Regions from separate parts of the Homo sapiens genome. Here region 2 is linked to region 1. The links are contacts of gene promoters, found by promoter capture Hi-C in blood cells and fetal thymus (Javierre and others, 2016). All regions are on one chromosome and are shown on one strand. The core of a region is centred on a gene start or on the middle of the fragment in contact, and the rest is flanking DNA. Distances in the headings are between cores, read along the strand shown. Region 1 holds the start of PCDH9-AS1 (PCDH9 antisense RNA 1). Region 2 has its middle 210 kb from the start of LINC01052.

What was found. The method cuts DNA at HindIII sites, captures the fragments that hold promoters and counts their contacts. A CHiCAGO score of 5 or more calls a contact.
Region 2: a fragment that was not itself captured here is called in contact with the fragment with the promoter of PCDH9-AS1 in region 1 in 1 of 17 cell types (endothelial precursors); the score reaches 6.6 in endothelial precursors.

The regions. Positions count from the first base shown.
Region 1 is chr13:66,301,706-66,306,935 of GRCh38, reverse strand. It overlaps PCDH9-AS1 (PCDH9 antisense RNA 1), which reads right to left and starts at 3,065. Exons shown (of 2, transcript NR_046528.1): 1 at 2,922-3,065. It overlaps PCDH9 (protocadherin 9), which reads left to right. Exons shown (of 5, transcript NM_203487.3): 5 at 1,908-4,102. The coding sequence ends at 2,281. The HindIII fragment of the contact is 1,054 bases long and covers 2,086-3,139 here.
Region 2 is chr13:65,655,412-65,661,175 of GRCh38, reverse strand. No RefSeq gene overlaps it. Among named protein-coding and RNA genes, the nearest start is that of LINC01052, 210 kb to the left of the region's middle. The HindIII fragment of the contact is 488 bases long and covers 4,050-4,537 here.

The DNA of each region.
Region 1 (5,230 bases), core at 1,816-4,315:
GCAAAATGTGTTAGCTTTGTGAATGCAGAGTCACTGAGTACACCTAAGGGAGCCTAAAAGTGATAAATTAGTTTGAACTTTTAAAATGTGGCCAGATTGTAGAGGGCAAAGAAAGGCTCATAGAGAAGTTTAAATTAAATATCCAAAAAAGTGAGTAATCATTGGAGGTATGTGAGAGGAAAAGTTTTAAGTAATGAATATGTGTTTAAACAAAATAAAACTGTTTGCTCTTGAGGGGATGGGAATATGGTTCAGATGGGAAGTAATTTTAAGGATATTCTAAAAGGAAGACTTTTAGATATAAAAAAAATCGCTAAACTTTGAGTTTATATGAAATAGTGCATTTCAGCCCCTTTTTTCACATCTAGTATCTGTTCTGTTTTTAAACAATTTTTTTATATCAATAGTTTTTGGGGTACAAGTGGTTTTTGGTTACGTGGATGATTGTATAGTGGTGAGGTCTGAGATTTTAGTGCACCCATCACCCAAGCAGTATACATTGTACCCAGGAAAACTACATTCTGTATCTATTTTGATGTTGCCTGTGGTTTGCTGTCTCTGGTCTTTACCATCAACTGTTTCCTGTCTCGGTGGGAATTTTTTTTTCTCATGCAAGAAATAATTAGAATATTATAAAGGCAAATAGAAAGCTCACAATTATTGGACGTTTAAAAATATTAGTTGTGCTAACTTTGGTTTTAGCAAAGACCTACATTCCAATTATTGAGCGATTTAAATTGATGACTAAGCAAACTTGCAGGTATGTTTACTTTTTTCTGCATTTTTTTTCTGATGACTCTCTGCATTTGAAAATGCTTTATGCCTCAGGCATTCTTGTGTATCCACTTAACTTCATTTGTAAAATCAATTCCTAATTTCCAAGCTATCATTTATCTATCACGTGGCTGTTTAATCAAGGGGGGTAAGACAACAGCAACAAAGAAACCCAATTTATTTCTTAACCATTTGGCTTATGTTGTTTTTTTAGTAAAGGGCTGATTTCTATTTTAAACAGTCAGAAAATAGTTTACTTTCGAAATCCTGGTTAAAATGTATGTTCTAGATTGCCTGCTGGTGAAAAAAGTAGAAGATAAATTCTATGATCACTTTCTTCCCCCTGAATGTTAGACTCCATGTGATTTAATTTGCAATTTAGCTTCAGTTTTATACCTTAGAAATTTAGAAAATAGTTAAGCTCAGGGGAACTAAACACTGTCTGGATTCAAATGGCTTCTTCTTTACTTGGATTTCAGAATGTTTGCAGCTGACCAGGTGTGTTGTTAGTAAGATACAATAGTTATTCTTTAAAATGAGTATTTAACTTTTCAAAAATGTGACAAAATATTTTCATTTAAAAATAAGGTGTTTATGTAGAAAAAAACAATATTTTATATAATCATTTAGAGTATTTATTTTTAATGATGCTATGTTTCAAGTGGTAATTTTGCTTTTTAACTTAGTGGAGTTGTATTATTTATATATTCTTTAATATTACACATACAAATTGTTCTACTTTTTATAATTTATCATAAATATGAGTTTTTTTCTGGGATTTCTTAGAATATAAATTAGTAATAATCTGTATGCATCATGGTTATATCTGTATACATCATGGTTATACCTGTTTACCCATATCTGTCTTTTTATCTATCTATGTCTTTGGATCTAAATAACTAAATAATGGATTAAGAAGGAAAATATTAATAGATCAATCTTACCTCCCTAACAAATTTGATGCCTTTTGTGTTAATCTTTAAAAGATGGAGAAATATATCTTTGAGTTGCTTGACTTGATACACTTTTATGAAAAAATAAGATCACTAATAACATACTTTTTCTCTAAGATAATTCTAATTGAAAATTTTAACCACTTCCTTTTCTTATTTTCTCTCTCTTGTCTTCTGCAGATGGGCCTTTGGGTCCCCGAGGATTAGCTGAAGCTACAGAGATGTGCACTCAAGAGTGCTTGGTTTTGGGTCACTCTGATAATTGCTGGATGCCTCCTGGCTTGGGTCCATATCAACACCCCAAATCTCCTCTCTCAACCTTTGCACCCCAGAAAGAATGGGTGAAGAAGGACAAGCTTGTGAATGGGCACACCCTGACCAGAGCCTGGAAAGAAGACAGCAACAGGAACCAGTTCAATGACCGTAAGCAGTATGGCTCCAATGAAGGCCATTTCAACAATGGCAGCCACATGACAGACATTCCTCTGGCAAATCTGAAGTCTTATAAGCAAGCAGGAGGTGCTACTGAGAGTCCTAAGGAGCACCAACTCTAAGAAAAGGCTATATGGGACCTAATAACTTTAAATAGACATGCTAATACCGTGTGCGTCAGAGCTTTATGTATTCAATAGATCTCTACAACTATGCCCCTTCTAGCAGGGATACCTATAACTTTGTGTTAGCACCATGGAGAATACAATGTTTTTGCAACATATGAGAGAAGATAGTTCTAGCCATGCAATTTTGTTTACTAGAATTGATTACACTCTCCAGAGATCTCTCCATTGTGCAAATTTTTTTTATTATTGCATTTTATTTTGACCCTGGACTGCTGCTATGAACAATAGAATATGCATTTGGAAAGTAAGAAAGTTTCATGGATTAGAGTGACTGAAAAACATATCCAGTTAGAAAATTGTGCTTTTTTTTTTTTTTTTTTTTTTTTTTGTCATTGATTTGTGCTGGGACTGCTATACTTGACATTATACTGCAAACAAAACTTAAAGAGATAAGCATTAAACCTATTGTGCTGTTAACAACGTTAGTGGACACTTGTAAGTCAATCAGTGTTAAAGTATTTGTAAATAGAAGCAAGCTATTATTAACAACTTTTGTGTACTTATAATGTTCACCTAAAAATGTTGTAGCATAATTCTGTGTTTTATGGTTGCTTCTGTCCTTCTTTTTATTTACCTCTTTGTTGTTATTTTTGTTGTTTCTTTCAGTGAGGTGTTTCTGTGTTAGTAGTCTGTCTTGACACACATTGTTCAAACAATCTCAAGCACTTGTGTTTAAAAAAGGTTCTGAAATCTTGCTTCTCATATGATAGCTTATGATGCCGGAATTCTGTAAACAATAAAGATGAAAGAAAAAATGAAAACTTTATACAAAAAAGGACTTCTGCAAAAGCTTGGAAATTCAGAACCTATTTTTTATCATCTTATTTTCAAAGTAGGCAAAAGCAAAATCACTTAATTAGTACCATTAAGTGAGAGAGTAATGGAAAACTGTTATCCATCAAAAGTGATATAATATCCTGTACTTGTCACTCATGTAAAACTAATGTATCAAAATTAGCATATATGGAAGAAAAATCACTATTCAAAAATAGTTTCAATTGGGCAAATGTGTGTCTACAACTTTGTTGAAATGGCAGAGTCTGTGTTGATCCTCATATACAATAATGTTGTTGTAACACAAGTGTTATTAGACCATAGCCACAAAATATTTAATGTGTTGTGCCTTCATGATGTAACAGAACATTCTCCAGGTAGGGTAGTTGGGGGAAATAAAGGGATAAATCTCTAATTATTGCTGTTTAACTGTTTGTTATCATAGTTGGTCAATGCCTGGCAGGTACCAGCATATTGTCACTTAGGTCAAACCAATAAAGTGACAACTAATGTTAATAAGATCTCAGTTGCACGTGCAAACAAATCCAAATTCGAACATTCTTAGGAGGTTTTTGTTAAGGCATGACAGATGATTTAAACAAATAAATAGCATGCAACAAAATGTCTTTATTGAAAGAAGTGGAAGTTATCTTAATGCCACGGTTCACCATCAATTTAAAAGTAAAAAAAACAAAAAAAAAACAAAAAATTTAAAAAAAAGGTTTGCTAATCTGATAGTTAATTTGTTCTTACCAAAAAATAAAATTACTTTGTAAATAGCAGTTCACATTTTTCCACAGTATAATGGAAAATAATGGGTAGGGGTGCATTGCTTATTGAAGTACATTTTTGTCGGTTTGTGAGGGGTGTTTGATGACTTTGACAGAATAAATATCTAAACAATTATCCTTGTTACTGCTTTGCCAGTTCTACGTTATTTACAATTATTCAGCTCTTGCAATAAATGTTCTGAATTCCTGATTGCAGTGTGTTAATTCTTAGTCAACATCCAAATTGGTTATTTATACTTCTAATTGTTGGGTAAATATATGTTGATAAAATTTAACATTTATTTAGAAATTAAGGAAGATTCATTGGGGTTTAATACCTATCCTTTGAAAATGTGAGTACCAAGATAAGTGTTCAATTACCCTAATGGTCTTCAAAACTATTCTTTAGGGAAATTCATGGAGAAAGTTCATTGACTTTCTGGTCAAGATTCATGCAAATTTCATCAGTGAAATCCCAAGTCAGAAACTGTGCTGGTAGCACTAGTTAGTAAGGTTATTTTTTTATTCTTTGTCTCTTTAATAAGATTTCATGGAACAAACTTTCATTGGCCAAGGCAGAAGATCATTCTGGGATTATGGCCTTAAACCCAGAGTCAAACTTCATCTGTATTTCTTTCAGTTTAGGAAAATAGGCACAGAAAGCTATCAAGGATAAGAAGACACACTCAAACATATGCCATGTGTGTATGCTCACCCTAGAGCAACTGCATCAATGTTCACTCATGCTGGAGTTTTGGGCTAGGTAAGTAAGCCTGACTCTTCAAGCCCTAGAGCTTTTTGGAGGATTATGAAATAGGATTTGGGAGTCAGAGGCATAGTGTTAAAGTTATTTGCCTGGACCATTGTCCGGATATGACATCCTAACCATTCATTCCTAATAAGCTAGACCTGTCCTCTAGTCTGAGGTACACTGCAGCACCACCCTCTTTTCCCTCACAGGAGTAGAGACTGCCCCAAGATACAGACAGGGAATGAATCCTGAAAAGAGGACATTCTGAAAAACAGAAATTAAAATCTATGCCTGCACAGTTCCTTTCTCTATTTTTCACCAATCAGGTAAGTCATTCACCTCTGCCTTGAAGAGTAAAGAGAGAGAAACTAATCTCATATTCTCTCCATGAATAAACTGGAAGTTTGAAAAAGGCATTCACCTTTCCCATTCCTACCACATTTCTTCTAATAAATACAACAATATATAGTCTTATGAAGACATTTGGTTATATGCTCTGGGTAATTTTAAGAGTAATAACATCACAAACCAAACTGAAGAATTTACCCATCAAGTAAATAAAACAGTACATTTGCAATGACCATTCCT
Region 2 (5,764 bases), core at 3,044-5,543, 650 kb after region 1:
AGTATCTTTGTCAATTAGTTAGATGGAATTTCAACTTCCAATATTTAACATGCATATGGTGCATACTTCAGTGTGAAACTTAAATCCTTCAGTTTTGCTTTACATGATTAACATTTCACCCAGCCTAATCTATATATTTGGTTTTAAACTTCTGGGATGGTCTGTGATGCATGCTTTGAATGAAAAACAACAGCCTCAACTGCGAGAAGATGATTTTCTTATGGTCTTACCACCAGAACTGATCCATCTGCTTTCAATTTCTTGCACTTTAAAATTCACTTGTATATTTGTATGTGTGTGATTCATTCACATTTTGGCCCCTGCAAAAAGCTTTGGTTACCTATCAAACACAATATGAAATGCTGTCAGTTTATTCATCTGTCCCTTCATGTAGAGAATTGAGAAGGAGGCTGTGGAAAGCAGCTATAAACTGCTGTGGAAAACAGCTATTTCTGAAAAATTCCTAGTATTGAATTTCAAAAACTCAAAGCAGCATAAGATCAGCCCAGAGTGCAGTATTTCTCTGTGGTTTAAGAACCATATTACGTAGTACATATATGTTCTTTTATTAGGTTAAAATTTCAATATAACTAAAAAAATTTGCTAATCCTCTCATTTATTCTGTTTCTCTTCATTTTTCAAGTACTACACATTACTGTTATGTTTCTGTTGCTAAAATATTCTAGGCAAAGTTTAAGTAAGAATATTCCTAAGTAACCAAAGGTTTAATTTCTAATTTCCTTTACCAGAAAATCGCAAAAGAATAGGGCTCACATTATCTATAGTAAAAAATGTTATTCTTAGAGAAAAAGCTTCCTTCCTCAATTCCCTGTGTCAGTGACCCTCTCCCAAACCTAGTTGATAGACTATTTGAGAATGTGGCATACACCATCAACCTGTATCTTTATGAACACTACATTGTAACTTCTCACTAACTTGAAACCAGCACATAGACTTTTGACTTCTCATGCCGATGGTCAAATGTTACTTTTATGGCATTCTTTAAAGGAATCTGCATGCAGTTTTTTCCTGAGCCAAGGCCATCTTCAGAGGATTATATAACACCCAAGGTTGATCTGGTGAGTATAAAATAACATATCTTTTTTCATGGGGTGGAAGATTTATCACTCATTTAATAGATGTATTATATTATATTTGCAACAAAAACAATATGTGAAGCATTGTAGCAGTGTCTGTTATTAAAAATAATGATCAGTGACATCATTAAGAAGTGAAAATAAAACTATCAGATACCTATCAGAATGGCTAAATTAAAAAATGTACAACAAATGCAGATGATGGTAATGATGAGGACAAAGTTGATTATTCATTCATTGCTTGTGAAAATAGAAGATGGTTCAGCCACTCCGAAAAGCAGTTTGGCAGTTTCTTAAAACTCTATGCATTTGGACTATCACCTGGCAGTTGCACACTTTATCACTTATCTAGGAGAAATAAAACCATGTGTTCACACAAAAACTTGTACAAAAACTTTCATAGAAGCTTTATTAATAATTGCCAAAACTTTAAAACAACCTAGATGTCCTTAAATGGCCAAAGGTTAAACAAACTCCACATACAGACCAATGAATACTACTCAACAATAAAAAGGAACACACTATTGATGCATTTCATCACTTGAGTGGATCTCCAGAGAATTATACTTATTGAAAAAAGAAAATCACAAACAGTTACATATTATGTAATTAAATTTATATATGTTCTTCTAATACTGCAATTGTAGACATGAATAACAAATTAGTAGTTGCCAGGAGTTAAGAGATTGGGACCTCTCTTAAGAGAAGGGTGAGTTTGGCCATAAAGGTATAGCACAAGAGATCCCTGAGGTAATGGAACAGTCCTTTATCTTCAATTGTGGTGGTGAATGCATACATCTATGCATGTAAAAAGTTGCATTGCACTACCTATGCATAGTAATATATGTAAAAACTGATTAAATGTAAATAAGCTCTGTGGAACCAATATCAATTCTCTTGTTTTGGCATTATCTGTAATTATTCAATGTGGTACCACTGCGGGACACTGGGTGAAGGGTAGAAAACGCCTCCCTGTACATTTTTAAAACTTCCTATGAACCTATAATTATTTCAAAAGAAAAATTTAATAATGCAAGAATAAGTGTGCAGGATCTACTTAGTTTTTATCCTCTAAAAATGTTAATCTAGGCAGTGAGAAATTTGGTAAGACCAGATATTATAAAAAAACATAAAAATAGTAGGATAAGAGTATTATGAGAAAATTTAGCATAATGTATTCAATTAAAATTGAATAGGGCTTAAACTTAATGAAAAAATAAAGCAAACGTTTAGTAGTAATTGTCTGCTATACTATACTTTAAGATTGATACTCAACATAATATGTTTTGAATCCACCATCTACACCACAGTGTACTTACCTTCTTGACAACCCTTATTTTTTACCAGATATATTCTCCAATAAAGATGAGCAGATGAGTCTCAGTGTCTGGGAAAAGGGAATATGGTTTCAAATAAACAATAGCACAGGCAAGAAAGAGATAATGACTAAAGAAACAGCCAACATTTGAAGAGGAAATATAATGCCCTTAAGTTTATGTAGGAAAAGGAAAGAAGCAAGGAGTGAGAATAGAGACAAAAGGTCAGTAAAAATTATGTTGGTTCTCTTCACTGTAGTATCATAATTCAGATTAAAGGGCAATTGGATCACTCATTAGGTTTGGGAAACTTCTCATGCAATGTAGCTTTCCTCATGTTTCTCAAGATGTAGTTTGGAAAGTTCCTTGTGCCCACATTACTCATGGCATCTGAACTACAGGGTATCCCATGCCTTGGATTAGAAGTAGATGAGAAATTATAATTGGAAAGAAAGAATTAAGAGCACCGTCACAGAGACAGGTTTTCTCAGTTCTGCAAGGACAGCAACATGCTAACAAAATGGGTAGGTCCTAATAGGCCTGTCATTAAGATCAGAAAGTAGTACAGGAAGAACACGAGAAAGGAAGCTGTGTACAGTCCATGACCCTCCAGAGAAGAAATTTTGCTGGAAATCCGTGTTGACTGGTAGAGACCAGTTGAACCTGAGTAAGTAAGAGCTCAATCAGAAGAGATTAAACATCAGTCCTAACATCAGGACTCAAGGATGACTCAAAAGCATCCATTTTCGTCTGAACTGTGTCTTGCCAGAATTCATATATTGAACCTCTAACAGCTAATTTAACTGCATATGGAGATAGAACCTTTAAGGAGGTTAAATGAGGTCATGTGAGTGGGATCCTAATCCCACAGGATGGGTGTCTTTATAAGACATGGATGAGACTCCAGAGAGCTCTCTGTGTCATCAGAGAAAAAGGCCACAGAGGGACACAATGAGAAGATATCTACAAGCCAAAAAGTGTGGTCTCCCTAGAAACCAATCCTGGCAATACTTTGATCTTGGATTTCTAGCCTTCGGAAAAGTGGAAAAATTAATATCTGTTGCTTCAGGCATCCAGTCTGTGGTATTTTGTATGGCAGCCCTGGTAAACTAATACACCAACCTCTAAAAATCTTTCTAAATTTTCTTTGCACCATATTTTGGAAATTTTCTTATTAGATAATGAAAGAAAATTTAATGACATTATAAATGATATATAAAATATGTAAGGGAAAAAGTTTGATAGGCATAACTCTGCATATAAACTTTGAATTGATTAGTTTATTTACACAAATCTGATTTAAACCAAAAGGGACTCCTTTTGTTTAAAAAAATGTTATTTTTAATTCGAACATTAGTTTTCCTTAAGAAATGAGTGTAAGTGATGTTAATAGCAATATTAAGATGAGCTCTAGATAAGATCTAAATAGATATTTGGCATAACTCAGTTGTAGTTTAGCAATTTAAACCATATCACCCAGTTTTTAACATCTGCAAGAAAAAAAAGTTATCCCAAAAGGATAAAAATATGCATGTGCCGTAGATTTATTAAAATAATAGTAATTATTTGCCATAAAAATTTATTATAGACTTTCTATAATTTTGGGATTGTGATATCTTATACTTTAGTATAAGCTTATGAATATATACTTCCTCTTAATCTTGTACCTTTATTGAGTTTGATATCTTTATAAATCCTTTATGTTAAATTTATAGTGTGATACTAAATTTCAGATTAATGTAATGGGTCTCAACATTTTCAGTCATTCTTATCAACAAGAAATAGGTTATAAATATTATCACATAGTAAATGGAATGGTGTTCTCTAGCACCATCTAGCTTACTTTTTGAGCAATTCACAGCAACAAAATTTAACAATTGGATAACAATTTTAGATAGTATAACTATGAAGGTCAATGAAGATAGGTCAAAATGATTAACAGTATTAATGCCATTTAAAAAATTACTACATGCACACTGTTGCTTTCTCATAGCATTAAGGGATTTGTCCTCTACTGCTGTCACTGCGTCTTAAAAAAATCATTTTCTATCTGCTAATTGCCAGAAATACTTCATTTAAAACTGTAGGAAGATCCACTTAATTGCCCTGAGTTGCGGATAAGCTTTAGAACTAATGTGTTTTTATATCAATAAAGATTGAGAGCACTATATAAAATAACTCATAATGTTCATCATCTTTATATCATGAAATACATGTCATTGGCATTGCCCTGATAGAAAAAGCTAAGCCATATAGAGAGCAGAGAATTCAAACTTACACTTAGTTTATGAAGACAGGTAGTCATAGGAAAATCACATCCAATGTTTGCCAAGTATCTTCTAGAAGAACGTATTTGAATTAATTTCTGTTTGTGATACACTAGCATATTTACTAGTAGTTTGCATTTAGGTGACATAATTTAAATTTATCAATTCTGATTGTGGGTGGCCACTTTTCATTTTATTCTACAATACCTTCACGTTGCTATTTAATCTCTAGTTGTTTCTAGCCCTGCAAATCTATTTAGGAAAAAACATAGAACTCTGATAAATGCAAAATATGTGCTAGTACAATGTATAAGAACACTTGATGAATGTTAGCCAGAAGAAAATATTAAAGCAAAAGGGATTTTGAAACCAACTTTGGTTGTAAGAAGCTAATAATATGGATATTCAAGCAAATATTTAAATATTTTGATACATTGTATTTATGAGAATGTAATTTGGCTACCTTATTTTCAGTGAATGCAATAAAGTATGTTTAAAATAATTCATCAGTACTAGAAGTTGTAAAATATTGTTAAATGAGTACATTTTTCCAATATTCTTTAAAAAAGAATCTCTTCCAGATATGGTTGGCTTGAGTTGAAACTTAAAGTGAAATTTAATGGAATTAGTCTGGTTACTCCAATTATATAAAATTCTAAAATATTAGAATAATTAATATTCAATCTTATCAATTCATTTGCTTATTAAACAAGTAATTACTTAATGAATATTATTTACCAGTCACTGTTTTACATGGCCAGGATTCATTTGTACTTAATGCAATTAAAGCACTTGATGTGGTGCTCTTAAAGAGCTTATATGTTAATATGGAGATACAGACAAATTATATATGTATACAGGTGCATGTGTATGTGTGTCATATGCGAGATAGCACTAAGCACTATGTAGGGAATTAAGTGACGTGGTAGTGATTTTCTTTTGAGATAGTGATTTTTAAAATTTCTTTAGATTGCATAGGCAGAAAGATGACATTTAAACAGAAATTTGAAATCATAGAAAAAGGAAGAGGTATATTCCAGGAAATCAGAATACCTATTTTGCAGACTCTTAAGTTCCTAAGAGT